Linked DNA regions of Homo sapiens: regions 1 and 3 are each linked to region 2. Evidence: promoter capture Hi-C in 16 types of primary human blood cells and fetal thymus (Javierre and others, 2016). All regions are on one chromosome and are shown on one strand. The core of a region is centred on a gene start or on the middle of the fragment in contact, and the rest is flanking DNA. Distances in the headings are between cores, read along the strand shown.

Region 1 (5,069 bases), core at 116-2,615, 3.8 Mb after region 2:
AAAATACAAAAACTAGCTGGCATGCGCCTATAATCCCAGCTACTTGGGAGGCTGAGACAGGACAATCGCTTGAACTCAGGAGGCAGAGGTTGCAGTGAGCCAAGATGGCGCCATTACACTCCAGCCTAGGCAATAAGAGTGAAACTCCATCTCAAAAAAAAAAAAAAAATTTAGCCAGGGTGGTATCGGGTGCCTGTAGTCCCAGCTACTCGGGAGGCTGAGGCAGAATTACTTGCACCTGGGAGGCAGAGGTTGCAGTGAGCTGAGATCACACCATTGCACTGCAGCTTGGGCAACAAGAGCAAAACTCCATCTAAATAAATAAATAAATAAATAAATAAATAAATAAATAAATAACTCATCAATGCCCAGCCACCAATGAACATCTATAAGCATCAAGGCCATCCAGAATAAATGACCTTACCAAACAAATCAAATAAGCCACCAAGGACCAATCCTTGAAGAAACAGAGATATGTGACCTTTCCGACAGAGAATTTAAAATAGCTGTTTTGAGGAAACTCAAAGAAATTCAAGCTAACACACAGAAGGAATTCAGATTCCATCACATAAATTTAACAAAGAGATTGAAATAATTGAGAATCAGCTGGGTGCAGTGGCTCACGCCTGTAATCCCAGCACTTTAGGAGGCTGAGGCGGGCGGATCACCTGAGGTCGGGAGTTCTAGACCAGCCTGACCAACATGGAGAAACCCTGTCTCTACTAAAACTACAAAATTAGTGGGGCGTGGTTGCGCATGCCTGTAATCCCAGCCTGGGCAACAAGAGTGAAACTCGGTCTCAAAAAAAAAAAAACCAAAAAACAAAAACAAAAACAAACAAACAAAAAACAATACCCAATGATCTGTTGTCAACAAGAAACATACTTCACCTACAAATAAAACAGTAAGAGACTGGGTCCTGAAATGCGGGCCCACTTCATATGTGAGGGCAGGTGTCTAATCATGTCCTTTCTCCCTTCCCCCAGGCCCTTCACAGATACCTGCTGGTCTCTCCCACTTGGCCAAGGAAACACTTGTGGTTAATAAGTCTCAGAAAAGTTATGTGAAAGTTAAAAGTAAAACTGACAGCAGCTGAAGGATGGGGGGGTGGGAGGTGGTGACGGTGGAGGAGACCCCACCACCACTGCCACCCAAGTAGGGAGTGAGGAGCACCAGGAGCACAGGATGCTACTTCTGCCAACCCTACAAAAATACTCTGCACAAATCTTCAAAAAACATCCTTGTCCCACTGCGTCACCTGCGGACAGATTTCATGTCCTGGTCTCCTTCTAAACCTGGAGGTGGGGCATGAACAGGGTGGAGTCACAGGGGAAAGAAAATGAGGCCCCAGGACACCTGGGTTCACACCCAGGTCCCCAGCGATGTCTCCACCACCGCTGCTGCAACCCCTGCTGCTGCTGCTGCCTCTGCTGAATGTGGAGCCTTCCGGGGCCACACTGATCCGGTATGGTGACCCCATCTACCACCCCAACCTTAGGAGGGATTTTCTGCCTCTTGCCCTTTAAGTCTAGGACTCCCAGTTCAGTGATCCCCAAACTTGGCACCCAGGATCCCTAGAGCTTCTTTCTCAGCTTTCCAGATCTCTAAACCAGGCTGTCACCCCTAAGGGCTCCACTCTGACATCTCTTAAGACCAGATTTCTTTTTTTTGAGATGGAGTCTCACTCTGTTGCCCAGGCTGGAGTGCAATGGCATGATCTCAGCTCACTGAAACCTCTGCCTCCTGGGTTCAAGCGATTCTCCTGCCTCAGCTTCCCAAGTAGCTGGGATTACAGGCTCGCGCCACCATGCTCAGCTAATTTTTGTATTTTTAGTAGAGACGGGGTTTCACCATGTTGGCCAGGCTGGTCTGGAACCCCTGACCTCGTGATCCGCTCACCTCGGCCTCCCAAAGTGCTGGGATTACAGGCGTGAGCCACCGCGCCTGGCTGACCAGAGCCCTTTTATTATTATTATTATTATTATTATTATTTATTATTATTATTATTATTTGAGACAGAGTCTTGCTCTGTTACCCAGGCTGGAGTGCAGTGGGGCGATCTCAGCTCACTGCAACCTCTGCCTCCCGGGTTCAAGTGATTCTCCTGCCTCAGCCTCCCAAGTAGCTGGGACTACAGGCACATGCCACCACGCCCGGCTAATTTTTGTATTTTTAGTAGAGATGGGGTTTCGCCATGTTTGCCAGGCTGTCTTGAACTCCTGACCTCAAGTGATCTTTCCGCCTCAGCCTCCAAAAGTGCTGTGGTTACAGCTGTGAGCCCCCGCGTCCGGTCCCAGAGCCCTTTTAAGTCCCAGATCTTACAACACTGAGACTCTAGATTGAGGACCCCTCCCCCTCCTCTCAGGACTTTTTTTTTTTTTTTTTTTTTGAGACTGAGTCTCACTCTGTTGCCCAGGCTGGAGTGCAGTGGCGCAATCTTGGCTCACTGCAAGCTCTGTCCCCCGGGTTCACATCATTCTCCTGCCTCAGCCTCCCAAGCAGCTGGGACTACAGGCACCCGCCACCACGCCCGGCTAATTTTTTGTATTTTTAGTAGAGATGGGGTTTCACAGTGTTAGCCAGGATGGTCTCGATCTCCTGACCTCGTGATCCACCCACCTCAGCCTCGCAAAGTGCTGGGATTACAGGCGTAAGCCACCGCGCCTGGCCTTTTTTTTTTTTTTTTTTTGAGACGGAGTCTTGCCCTGTCGCCCAGGCTGGAGTGCAATGGCGCGATCTCAGCTCACTGCAACCTCCACCTCCCAGGCTGACACCATTCTCCTGCCTCTGAAAGTGCTGGGATTACAGGCGTGAGTCACCATGCCCGGCTAATTTTTTTTGTATCTTTAGTAGAGATGAGGTTTCACCATGTTGGCCAAGCTGGTCTTGAACTCCTGACTTCGTGATCTGCCTGCCTCAGCCTCCCAAAGTGCTGGGATTACAGGCGTGAGCCACTGCGCCTGGCCAGGACATGTTTTTGAGAGGTCTCTGCAGACCCTACTATGAGCTCTGATGATTAGGTACTGTGGTTTCCAGACCTGTGACACACTCCTCCCATCTTCGAGCCCCAGATATGTGACATTTAAACTGAGACTCCCCCACATCACGCCCATCAAACTGGCCTGAAGAAGTCATGTTTTTGGCCAGAGACATGGCTCACACCTGTAACCCAGCACTTTGGAAGTCCAAGGTGGGAAGCTTGTTTGAGGCCAAGAGTTTTGAGACCAGCCTGGGCAACATGGCCAGACTCCACCTCTACAAAAAATACAAAAATTAGCTCAGTGTGGTGGTGCACACCCATGGTCCCAGCTAGTTCAGGAGGGTGAGGAAGGAGGATTGCTTGAGCCCAGTAGTTCGAGGGGGCAGTGGGCTATGATCCTGCTACTGCACTCCAGGCTGGGCAACAGGGTGACACCTTGTCTAAAAAAAAAATTAATAAATAAAATAAAATAAAATAAAAAGCCAGGTGTGGTGGTGTGCCCATAGTCTCAGCTACTCCAGAGGCTGAGGTGGGAGAATCACTTGAGCCCTGGAGATCAAGGCTGCAGTGAGCCCTGACTGCACTACTGCACTCCAGCCTGGGTGACAGAGGGAGACCCTGTTTCAAATAAAAAGTTTAAAAGAAGAAAAAGAAATCCAATCTTGGGGACCCTATGCAAGAAGTCTTCCCACTACCTTACCTCTGATGTCCCCTCCCCGCCCCCATCTCTCTTTTTCTCCTCTCTTGTCTTCATTCCCTGGAACTCTTGGTAGGGGGAGGGGTGTACACTTCCAGGAAGAGTTTTCCCCACTTCACATTCTCGTGCCTCTCAAAGACTGACTCATGGGGGGTGACGGGAAAGGTGTGAGTGATGTGACAAGTGCTTCAAGGAGTGACTAAAGGCAGGAACGAAGATATTACCGCACATGGTGCTTGTTAACCTGCTTTTTGAACCTAATGTCTCATGGCCATTTTCTAAGTCAATGCAAAGAAAATGAGTCTCCAAATGTTGTATCAACAGCATCGTCATGACCTGGGAACTTGTTAGAAATCCAAATTCTCGGCTCCATCCTAGACCTACTTAATTAGCAACTAAGATACCTGAATTGTAATTGGCCCTCTAAGTCAAGGGTTGCAAACACTCAGCTTAAGGGCCAAATCCTGTTTGCCTCCTGCTTTTGCAAATACAGTTTAAAGGAACCCGGACAGGGCATAGTGGCTCTCCTCTGTAATCCCAGCACTTTAGGAGGCTGAGGCCAGGAGTTTGAGATCAGCACGGGCAACACAGCAAGACAATTAAGATTTGACGCTTACATTTTTCTCCTCAAGGGTGGGGAAAATAGTCCCTAACCTCACGAACTGAAGCATGCAGGGGCCACCACCCAAGGGCTTTTGCAAAGGTTAGGTTTTCTGTTAGGGTCTTGGGAAATCTTTAAGAATGTCAATTCCTTGGGAATAGCTTATTTTAAGGGATTTGGACATGGAAAGGTCTGTTTGGGATGGTTTGCTCTTGTAAAGTCTTTGGGGATATTTGTCATCATGGCATCTTTGATGGGCTTTTCTGGAGGTTGTTATTGCAGGGTTTCTGGTACTGACTACTATTGTAGTGCCTTGGAGATGTTGAATTTGTCATCATATCCTATTTGGGTAAGTCTATTTAGAGGTTCTCCAAGAAGGGCAGCTTCCTGTCAATATCCTCTTTCCCTACAGCATCCCTCTTCATCGAGTCCAACCTGGACGCAGGATCCTGAACCTACTGAGGGGATGGAGAGAACCAGCAGAGCTCCCCAAGTTGGGGGCCCCATCCCCTGGGGACAAGCCCATCTTCGTACCTCTCTCGAACTACAGGGATGTGAGTCACAGCCCCACACAGCCCTCACCCCTGCGCCCTTGAGCCAAACTCTTCGTTTACTCTCCTCTTTTGCTATCAGGTGCAGTATTTTGGGGAAATTGGGCTGGGAACGCCTCCACAAAACTTCACTGTTGCCTTTGACACTGGCTCCTCCAATCTCTGGGTCCCGTCCAGGAGATGCCACTTCTTCAGTGTGCCCTGCTGTGAGCTTCTATGTGGGAGAATAAGGCTGAATGG
Region 2 (4,413 bases), core at 1,914-4,413:
CCCCTGCCTTGGCCTCCAAAAGTTCTGTGGGATTACAGGTGTGGGTCATCGTGCCCAGCCTATATTTTTATTTATAACGTTTGTATGCATCTGGGAAATTTCATAGAAATCTTTTCAAAAGGAAGTTTAGTGAGGTAGAAAGAGTGCAGATTTAGGAGTCAGAAAAACCAATTTTGAAAGGCCAGGCCTGCTATTTACTAAGTGTGTGACTTTGGGCAAGTCAGTCCCCCTCCTCCAGGCCTTTTTCTCACCTGTACATGCAGATGAGACCATCCACGGGTTCCAGGACTGTCGCAAACATTCAAATCATGAACATTTATATACCAAGTTTATTGAGACCTCCTGAGACTTAAACCCTGTAGAAAACAGATGAATCAAACCCAGGCCCCATTCTCGGGAAGCTCACAGTGTGAAAATAGGTAACTACAAAAACACAGCCAATAAGTGCTTTGAAACAAGGAAGAACATAAAAAAGATGTAGTGTTCGAAAACCTGGAATCAAAAACTAACCGCGGAGAAAGGTAGGAGGATGTTCTAGACTCCCAGAGAAGAGCTGGGGAACATCCAGAAAGGCTCTTGCTGCCGACACAGCCACATCCCCTAGGTCTCTGGAGTTCACTGCAGGCTGGCCCATTGCAGGGAGGTGTAGACCACCTTACCATCAGGCTGCGGAGAACAGAGGAGCAGGGTCTTTCTGACGCTGGTTCCAAGGCGCCCAGCAGCAACCAGGTCTTGGAGTGGGATGGTGTCCTCAGGGGCCCAGCACTGAGCGATATAATGGGCGTGGAAGCGGAGGGGGTCACCTGGGGGAAGGAGAGAGGCACTGAAGCAGTGACCAATGGCAGACGGCTGGACGCCACGGGAACGACCACTGGGAGGAGATCTGAGATCATTTCAGCCATCACTATAGATACTCTAAAACAGATGCTCTTGGACACAACTATTCCACTTCTAGGCTTTTTTTTTTTTTTTGAGACAAAGTCTCGCTCTTGTCCCCCAGGCTGGAGTGCAATGGCACGATCTTGGCTCACTACAACCTCTGCCCCCTGGGTTCACATGATTCTCCTGCTTCAGCCTCCCGAGTAGCTGGAAATACAGGCACCCACCACCACGCCCAGTTAGTTTTAGTATTTTTAGTAGAGATGGGGTTTCACCATGTTGGCCAGACTGGTATCAAACTCCTGACCTCAGGTGATCCACCTGTCTTGGCCTCCCAAAGTGTTGGGATTACAGGCGTGAGCCATTGCGCCCAGCCTGATGTCTAACTACTTCTAAGTGAATCTTCTGGATCACAGTAATCATTTAATAAAAGTCGTTAAACTGCTTGCCCAATGAGTTCGGGAGCTCCCAAATGTTTCCTGTCTGTCTATGAATTTCAGAGGCTAAGAGAAAGTGAGACAAAAAAGAAAAATGCAGCTGGGCCTATAATTCCAGCACTTTGGGGGGCCGAGGTGGAAGGATTGCTTGAGCCCAGGAATAGGGACCAGCCTAAGCAACAAGAGACCCCACCTCTATTAAGACAAAAAAAAAAAAAAAGAAAAACGCAGAATACATTGGGATCGTATGGAAAGGCACAGCAACCAGAGGCCCCAACCCATACTCACCAGGATAGACCAGGAAGTCACCTCCGAACTTGCCAGCCGCACTGAGGAAGAAGCCTCGCTCCCACAGGTCTCTGTAGATACTGTAGCGCAGCTCGTGGGCAGGGCGGCCGGCGTGGGGCCAGTCTTTAGACTGGACACGCCAGTCCAGGGGCCTGGCCTTGACCGGTCGAGGCCTGGCAGTGGCCAGCTGGACAAGGAGAGCAGATCTGGGCAAGGGGGCTACCCCATTTGAGGGTCCTGCTTGGGAAGACGAGGGGCCTGGTGGGGAGTACAGAGAAGAGTTTGGTAAATTCAAGGGGTAAAGTCTTCTCACCCTCAGGGAGACCCAGGCACTGGATTCCCAGCTAAAATTCCTAAAAGATCTCTCCTCTCCTTCCCGTGGTCCCTGGACTCCACCTCCCATGCTCACCAGCTTCCTCCTGCTCTCCCGAAGCCTGGCCATCACTGGTCTCATCCTCTTTGGCAGCCTGGCTCGAGCCGGCCTCCTGGCTTGAGCTGGCCCCTGAAGCCTGTTCTAGTTTCTGCTTCTTAGCAGCCTGGCCCTCCGTAATCTTCTCCAGGAGCTCCTGACGACGGGTCTCCCGGGCCTCAGCTGCCAAGGCGCTCTGCTCCTGGAAGCTCTCCTCTTGCTGGCGCTTGAAGGATGTCAGGGCCTGAGAAGCACACTTCGCTGGAACCTCCAAGCTTATGGTCCCTTCAGAAGCCAGGAAACTTGACTCCCAGGTCCCGCTCCCACCGAACCCGAGTTCGAGCCCCGCCCCCTTACCAGGCTGTGGTGCCGAGAGTCTGGACGCGGGGCGCTGACCAGAGTCACGGCGCCGATCTCGGCCAAGAGCCGCGCCTCTTCGGGCATCAGCAGCAGCGGGAGGCCCAGGCGCGAGTTCTGGCGGGGCCCGCGGGGCAGGGCGCCTACCGTGCGGCCCCCCACACCCAGGCGCTCCCGGAGGGCCTGCACCGCCTCGGCTCCCCACACCAGGGAGCGGCCGTTCGCCACCTCCACCACCAGCATCCTCCTGCGGGAGCCGGGAGGCAAAGCAGTTACCGAAACAGCTGCGCGCCGCGGACCGCTGCAGCGCACCCAAAGCCTCCGGGGTCTCGGCGAAGCCCCGCCCCTAGGCCTCAGGGGGCGGGGCCTCGCTCAGCCGCCGTTCACCACCTGCTGGGCCCGAGCGCCAGGCCCCGCCCCCGGGCGATCCCACCAGGCCTCGCGGCCGCCGGAGACGAGACGCCGGAGACAAGCCCCCGACCCTCTCCCCTCGCCAAGCCCCCAGGGTCCCGCTCTACCCTTGTGACCCTGCGGTCGGCACCCGCTCTGTGCCCGCACTGCCGTACCTACCATTGCGCCTTGGAGCGTGAAAAACAAACCTCCGCAAGCGCGGCGACACGCCCCCTTACAAAGGTCCATTTTGGCACCACCCTCTTGCAAAGTGGGCGTCCCCCTTCGGGTGTTCCCGTCAGCGGTCAGAAGCTCTGGAGGCTAAGGCACCGCCGAGGCCACACCCTCTTCCGGACGCTCGAGCCTTCGCTCCTCCTCTTTCCGAACGACTGTGATTCGGCTTTCGGACCTCCTCGCTCTCAGACTCCCACAGTACAAAACCCTGCCCCCTCCCGAGCACAGGAAGTTCGGCGTTCGGGCGTCCTCGGCTCCACCGAATCCGCAGCCCCGCCCCCTTCTCGAACGCCAGCAATTTGACGTTCGGGTGTTCTCGGCTCGGCCGAATCCGTAGCCCCGCCTCCTCCCGGACGCAATAGGTTCGGCGTTCGGGCGTCATCGGCTCCCGGCAGCCTCGCGGCCTGTGGCCCCGCCCCCTCCGAGCGCCAGCGCACCCCAGTTGGGGAGTTCCCGCCCTACGACCGAACCCCACAGCCGAAAGCCCCGCCCCCTGGACACCCGCCGTCCACTCTCCGCTCGGGCGGGCTCACCCCAATTGGGAGCGCTCAGTCCGCCTCCTTGCCTCCCTTCAGAATGTCCCACTGTCCACCGATAGAACCAGCGAGTCACCTCATAAACAGTAATTCGCAGTCGAGGTGGAGCCACCCACTGCGCACCGCGCCACGCGCTCCTTGCTCCACCCCCTCATGCCGACACCCTCGTCAACTTCGTCATCCCGCCCCATCAGCGCCGCGGGAAGTCAGGTCCCGCCCCTCGCAGGACCGAAGCCCCGCCCTCCTCCCGCGGGGGCCACCTTGGCTCCGCCCCACTGAGCGCACCTCCCTCTGCCGCTTCCTCTCCTCTACTTGGGAACTTGAGGATCGTCATCCTGGCCCGGTCCCGTAGGCGCACGCCGGCCCTCGGGGTTCCGCCCCTTTGAGGGCAAGTCGCTTTCGCCCCGCCCCCTTGTAAATACTCATGGGTGTCTGGCGAACCTGTTGACTCCGCCTATCATCCTAGCGTCACTTGTACCCAACTATCTACGAAGTAAACCGAAGCTTGTGGCCCCACCCACATCCGGCCGAGTCTGTGGCCCCGCCCACATCGGAACAGTGACCCTAAGGACTCGACTACCTCCGAAGAAAGCCGAAACATGTGGCTCCGCCCACAGTGGCCTCAGCTCTCCGTTCTCGACTATTGCCGAAGTGAGCCGAAGTTTGTGGCCCCGCTTCCGGAGAACTCAAGCTCCCGATTGTGCCCGAAGGAACCCGAAGGGAGACCCCGCCTCATTCCTCACGCCGAGCTCCAGACCCCGCCTCCTTTCCAGAGCCCGTCTGTTCCCCTTCGGGTCCAAAGCTTTTGGCTCCTCCTTGTTCCGAGCCCGAAGGCCCGCCCCTTCACGTACTCGGAGCTCGGATCCCAGTGTGGACCTGGACT
Region 3 (4,743 bases), core at 2,244-4,743, 4.3 Mb after region 2:
GAGGGGAAACTGAGGCACTGAGGGGACATGTGACTTCCCTGAGAGGCAGAGCTGGGACTGGAACCCAGGTGTGTTTCAGGAAGGAGCTGTGGGCTTTGAGGGAGGAGGCCTGGGTCCCCACAGTCCCCCCCTCAAGCCTCAGTGTCCTTATATGCAAACCAGCAGTCACAGTGGTGACCTTTTCTGTGCATCCTCCCTCAATGAAGCAGTGAGCACTGAAGACCAGGAACAGGGCCTGGTGCGGGCGGGGTCCACCTGCTGCTGCTCTCTGTGCTTGCGACTCATGGCAACACAGTTAATTGAATGCTCTGGCCTCTTGCGTGCTGTGCCCGGGGGCTGGTCTCCCACTGGGCTCAGGTCCAGTTCCTGATCTGGGTCTCCGGGTCCCATCCTGCGAGGGGACAGGCCCAGCTCCGGGTGACGGGGGCTGTAGTGGAGGCAGTACTAGGTGCCAGAACTGCAGGCTCCTTGGCGGGGGCTGACACAGCGAGGGATCTTTTCTGTAGCGCAGTGGCCACATGATAAGGCAGTAACAGCTGATTATCTCAGCCCTCACAGAGACCCTGTTATCCGCCCCATTTTTCAGAAGGGGAGACTGAGGCCTAGGGAAGCAAAACCTCTTGCTCATAGTTTGTCAGCGGCAGAGGTCTGATTGGAACATGACTGAAACCCCAGCCCAGATCCTCAGACATGAGACGGTGCACTCAGCCTTAATGGCTAGCAGGCAACAGCACTTCCACTGTGTAGGAAGCAATGTCCTAGGCCAAGAAGGGGAGAGGGAGAGGGGCAGGTAGGCTTCGTGGAGGAGGTGTCTGAACCGGGTAGAAGGGTTCCTACGTGGAGCAAGACGGGGAGGGGCACTGCTGGCAGTGGGCATCGCAGGGCACAGGTGGCAGGGCAGGGACGTGCTAGAAGTGGGCTTGGAGCCCGGGTGCACCCCTGGACCGCGTGTGGGTGCAGGGGGATTGCCCTGCCGGCGCTGACCTCGCCCCGTCGCCGTCCCCGCAGCCCTCTTCGCCCGACCTGGACCGCATCGCGGCGAGCATGCGCGCGCTGGTGCTGCGAGAGGCCGAGGACACCCAGGTCTTCGGGGACCTGCCACGGCCGCGGCTTAACACCAGCGACTTCCAGAAGCTGAAGCGGAAATATTGAAGTCCAGGGAGGGAGCGCCCCGGGCCGCGTCCGCCCCGTCCCACACTACGCCCCCGCCCCACTCCCGGGGCCTGCTAATCTGAGGCCGATCCGGGACCGGCCTCCTTGCGTCTCCCATTCCCAAGATTGTCCCGCCTCTGCCAATCCCCGCCGTCCTTCCAGCCCACGACCTGCCGCGCCGAGGAGCGGCATCTGTCCCGTTTCCCGATTGGGTCTGTCGTCTCTCTCCGCCTAGCGACAGATTCCTTCTATTAAGGGATTGGCTCGCTGAGTTCTAAGCTCTAAATGGGTCAACTCCTTTGTTTTCCGCCTAGCGACAAGGGATTTGCTCGCACGGCATTGGCTCCATCCCCTAGTCGCTGGACAGCTCTTTTTTTGATTGGCTCAAATCCTGTAAAGGGCTTGACCAGTCTCTACATAGTCACCGTCCGCTTTTCCTGAGTTCTCCCTCCCAATTGGCTCCAGCTTCCTGGGGGCGTGGCCAAGCCCTCCTCTTCCCAGAATTGGCCCGGGGCCTTCAATTTACGTTCTTTACACTACGGGGACTGGGGTCGTCTTTGCCCACGTCCCGACAACTTGTTCCCTGACCCCCTCAGGGATGGCCCCAAACTGTCCCTGCCTCTGGCACCCCCTTTCATTGGTTCCATCCATCCCCACAACAGCCTGCCAATCGAAGCCCGTCCCTGCATCCAGGATGGTACCAGCTCCCGCCCCTCGCCCCCCACCTCCACAGGTGCCTTAAAGGGCCCTCGTCCACCCAAGGTGGGGGGCAGGGGCCCTCACTCTCCGGCCCTGGTGTGGGGGAGAGAGTGAGGGGTTGGGGGATCGGCAGTTGGGAGGGGCGCTCTGAGATTAAAGAGTTTTACCTCTGAGATAAATGTGAAGTGTGTTGTGAGTGTTCATTCAACATTTTCTGAAACCGAATGGCAGCGTCTGATTATCAGTGAATAGCTGGGGGTTGGAATTACTGTGCCCATTTTATTTACTTTTTTGAGACAGGGTCCCACTCTCGCCCAGGTTCAAGCGATTCTCCTGCCTCAACCTCCCGAGTAGCTGGGATTACGCGCCACTGCCGCCCGGGTAATTTTTGTATTTTCAGTAGAAACAGGGTTTCATCATGTTGGTCAGGATGGTCTTGAACTCCTGACCTCAAATGATCCACCCGCCTTGGCCTCCCAAAGTGCTGGGATTACAGGCGTGAGCCACGGCGCCTGGCTTTGTGCCCATTTTATAGATATGAAGACACAGGTTCATGGGGTGGAGGAGAGCATCCCAGTCTTATGTGACCATGGAACCCAATCTTGAGGAGGTGAGTGTTGGAGACAGAGCCCACATATTCACCAGCAAAGCCAGGAACTCCAGCCGGGAGTCTTCTATTATAAAAGGACTGGAGCAACTGGGCTTGGTGCCTCACGCCTATAAGCCCAACACGCTGGGAGGCCAAGGCGGGAGGATCACATGACACCAGGAGGTCGAGATCAGCCTGGGCAGCACAGTGAGACCCCTTCTCCAAAGGGAAAAAAAAATGGCTGGAGGTTAGAAAGCAGGTGGAACCTCGTCCGAAATTAGGACTAGGTAAACGTAGTCCCACCAGACCACTACCGAAAGAATGCTAACACTAAATAAGACTTAAACGGATCTGAGCACTTTGGGAGGCCGAGGTGGGCGGATCACGAGATCAGGAGATCGAGACCGTCCTGGCTAACACGGTGAAACCCCGTCTCTACTCAAAATACAAAAAATTAGCTGGGCGTGGTGGCGGGCGCCTGTAGTCCCAGCTACTCGGGAGGCTGAGACAGGAGAATGGCGTCAACCCGGGAGGCGGAGCTTGCAGGTGAGCCGAGATCGCGCCACTGCACTCCAGCCTGGGCGACAGAGTGAGACTCCGTCTCAAAAAAAAAAAAAAAAAAAGACTTAAACAGGGCTCACTACCACCCATTTTTTAAAGCTTTTGTCACGTGTTAGCTCCTTTAATCGTCATGGTAACCCCACGAAGCGGAAACGATTATCCTTTTTATAGATGAGGAAACTAGAACATCGAGGGTGAAGCCAAAGAAGGACTTAGGGGCGCTGTCGGGGGCGGAGGTTTCCTCGACTGACAATGACCATCAGATGGGAAAAAAATCTTCCTCCCTGGGATGAAAATTAGAAGTCAAGGTGGAAAGAGGCAAATCTGCTAACGGAGGATCCAGTCCCCGCTACCGGCCTGAGCCTCGCGTTGCAGCAAGAGAGATGAAGGTCAGGGCTGCCGAGAGACCCTGGGGGCCGGGAGTCGGGGAAGGGGCGTGGCTGCTGTGGGAGGAGGCCAGGCCCCGCCCCCCACCCACGAGGGGACGAGTCATTTCCGTCCGCCGAGGAACCGACCGCCGCCGGCCGGGTTGCAGGCGGGGCACCTCGGGCAGGACCTCCCTGGTCGGAAGTGGCCGTGAGCCCAAGCCGCGGTCCCGGGTGAGTACGGGGCGGGGCGGAGGCATGTGCGAGGCTCTCTGCCTGTACGCTGGAAAGTGGGGATTGCAACTCGGGGAGGGATGGAGCACGCGTCGTCGCCTGGGAAACGGGTCGACCCGCGGAAGGCGAGCGGGTGGGACTTCCGGAGCAGTTAATGGTGGGGAAACTTTCTAGTGGATGTGGGAGGAGGCGGGACTTCCTGCAGCAAATTGGGGCTGTGCGCCGCTCAAGCCCGTTTACCTGCTCCCCAGGCCGGCACCCAGGATGGGCGAGGTGGAGGCCCCGGGCCGCTTGTGGCTCGAGAGCCCCCCTGGGGGAGCGCCCCCCATCTTCCTGCCCTCGGACGGGCAAGCCCTGGTCCTGGGCAGGGGACCCCTGACCCAGGTTACGGACCGGAAGTGCTCCAGAACTCAAGGTGAGCGGGGCCTGAGCTGGAGGGGGTGTGGCCTGCTGCAAAAGCGGGAACAATCCAGAGGGACGCTTGGCTGCTACGCGGGATTGCAGTGGTGCAGCCAGCCCCGAAGTCGGAAGGTGCTCTCTAGGGAGTACAGGAAGATAAAGTTTGTGCTTGATTTAGAATTAGCTAGATCCTTTGGGGGAGAGGGGATCGAGCCGATTTAGGGAGGATGTTCACTGCGCGGATGATGCTCAGGCCATCGGGAAATCCAGAAACAGGCGACGACCTTCGTCAAGAGAAAAATGATCCTGTGGAGAAAAGTAAATGTCGCTAGGTTGGGATGGATGGTAACAGGCCAAGCCCCGGACCTATATCTAGCCACATTTTTTGTCAAGGAGGAAACCAATTCTGTAGAGAAAAGTACCTCCCTGTCCCTTGCAAGGACCAGTGTCAGGCAATCCTAGTGCCACTATCTGGCTACTGCATGTCAAGGAGCCAATCCCATGTAGAAATAAACTGCCTCTTACTCCCTGGATGCTATAGCCTGAAGCAGGCCACACTCCCCAGAAATGAGGGACCCAATCACACAAGGATGCAAATCCTGACTCCACCCCTCCAATCCTCAGTGGAGCTGGTCGCAGATCCTGAGACCCGGACAGTGGCAGTGAAACAGGTATCAGTGCCTCTGCAAGGGCCAGCAAGGCCTGGGGATGGGATTTGGGGAGGAATTGCAAGCCGTCAGTGAA

What was found. The method cuts DNA at HindIII sites, captures the fragments that hold promoters and counts their contacts. A CHiCAGO score of 5 or more calls a contact.
Region 1: the fragment with the promoter of NAPSA here is called in contact with a fragment that was not itself captured in region 2 in 1 of 17 cell types (total CD8 T cells); the score reaches 5.5 in total CD8 T cells.
Region 3: a contact is called between the fragment with the promoter of PNKP here and a fragment that was not itself captured in region 2, in 5 of 17 cell types (fetal thymus, erythroblasts, naive CD4 T cells and 2 more). The highest score is 11.1, in fetal thymus.

The regions. Positions count from the first base shown.
Region 1 is chr19:50,361,935-50,367,003 of GRCh38, reverse strand. It overlaps NAPSA (napsin A aspartic peptidase), which reads left to right and starts at 1,365. Exons shown (of 9, transcript NM_004851.3): 1 at 1,365-1,465; 2 at 4,691-4,832; 3 at 4,912-5,035. The coding sequence starts at 1,383. All of the region lies in intron 3 of LOC105372437 (a long non-coding RNA gene), which reads right to left. RefSeq lists an enhancer at 1,015-1,164. The HindIII fragment of the contact is 17,836 bases long and covers 1-3,200 here.
Region 2 is chr19:54,189,565-54,193,977 of GRCh38, reverse strand. It overlaps MBOAT7 (membrane bound acylglycerophosphatidylinositol O-acyltransferase MBOAT7), which reads left to right and starts at 4,398. Exons shown (of 8, transcript NM_024298.5): 1 at 4,398-4,413. It overlaps TSEN34 (tRNA splicing endonuclease subunit 34), which reads right to left and starts at 2,670. Exons shown (of 4, transcript NM_001077446.4): 1 at 2,371-2,670; 2 at 2,014-2,257; 3 at 1,605-1,862; 4 at 1-803. The coding sequence starts at 2,613. The coding sequence ends at 616. RefSeq lists enhancers at 1,218-1,734, 3,703-4,384, 4,385-4,413 and a silencer at 2,579-2,780. The HindIII fragment of the contact is 1,746 bases long and covers 2,291-4,036 here.
Region 3 is chr19:49,866,326-49,871,068 of GRCh38, reverse strand. PNKP (polynucleotide kinase 3'-phosphatase) reads left to right here and starts at 3,493. Exons shown (of 17, transcript NM_007254.4): 1 at 3,493-3,600; 2 at 3,852-4,015; 3 at 4,624-4,670. The coding sequence starts at 3,865. It overlaps AKT1S1 (AKT1 substrate 1), which reads left to right. Exons shown (of 5, transcript NM_001098633.4): 5 at 1,009-2,030. The coding sequence ends at 1,152. RefSeq lists enhancers at 410-1,057, 3,256-4,037, 4,038-4,743 and silencers at 973-1,282, 3,357-3,656, 3,727-4,096. The HindIII fragment of the contact is 3,228 bases long and covers 3,103-4,743 here.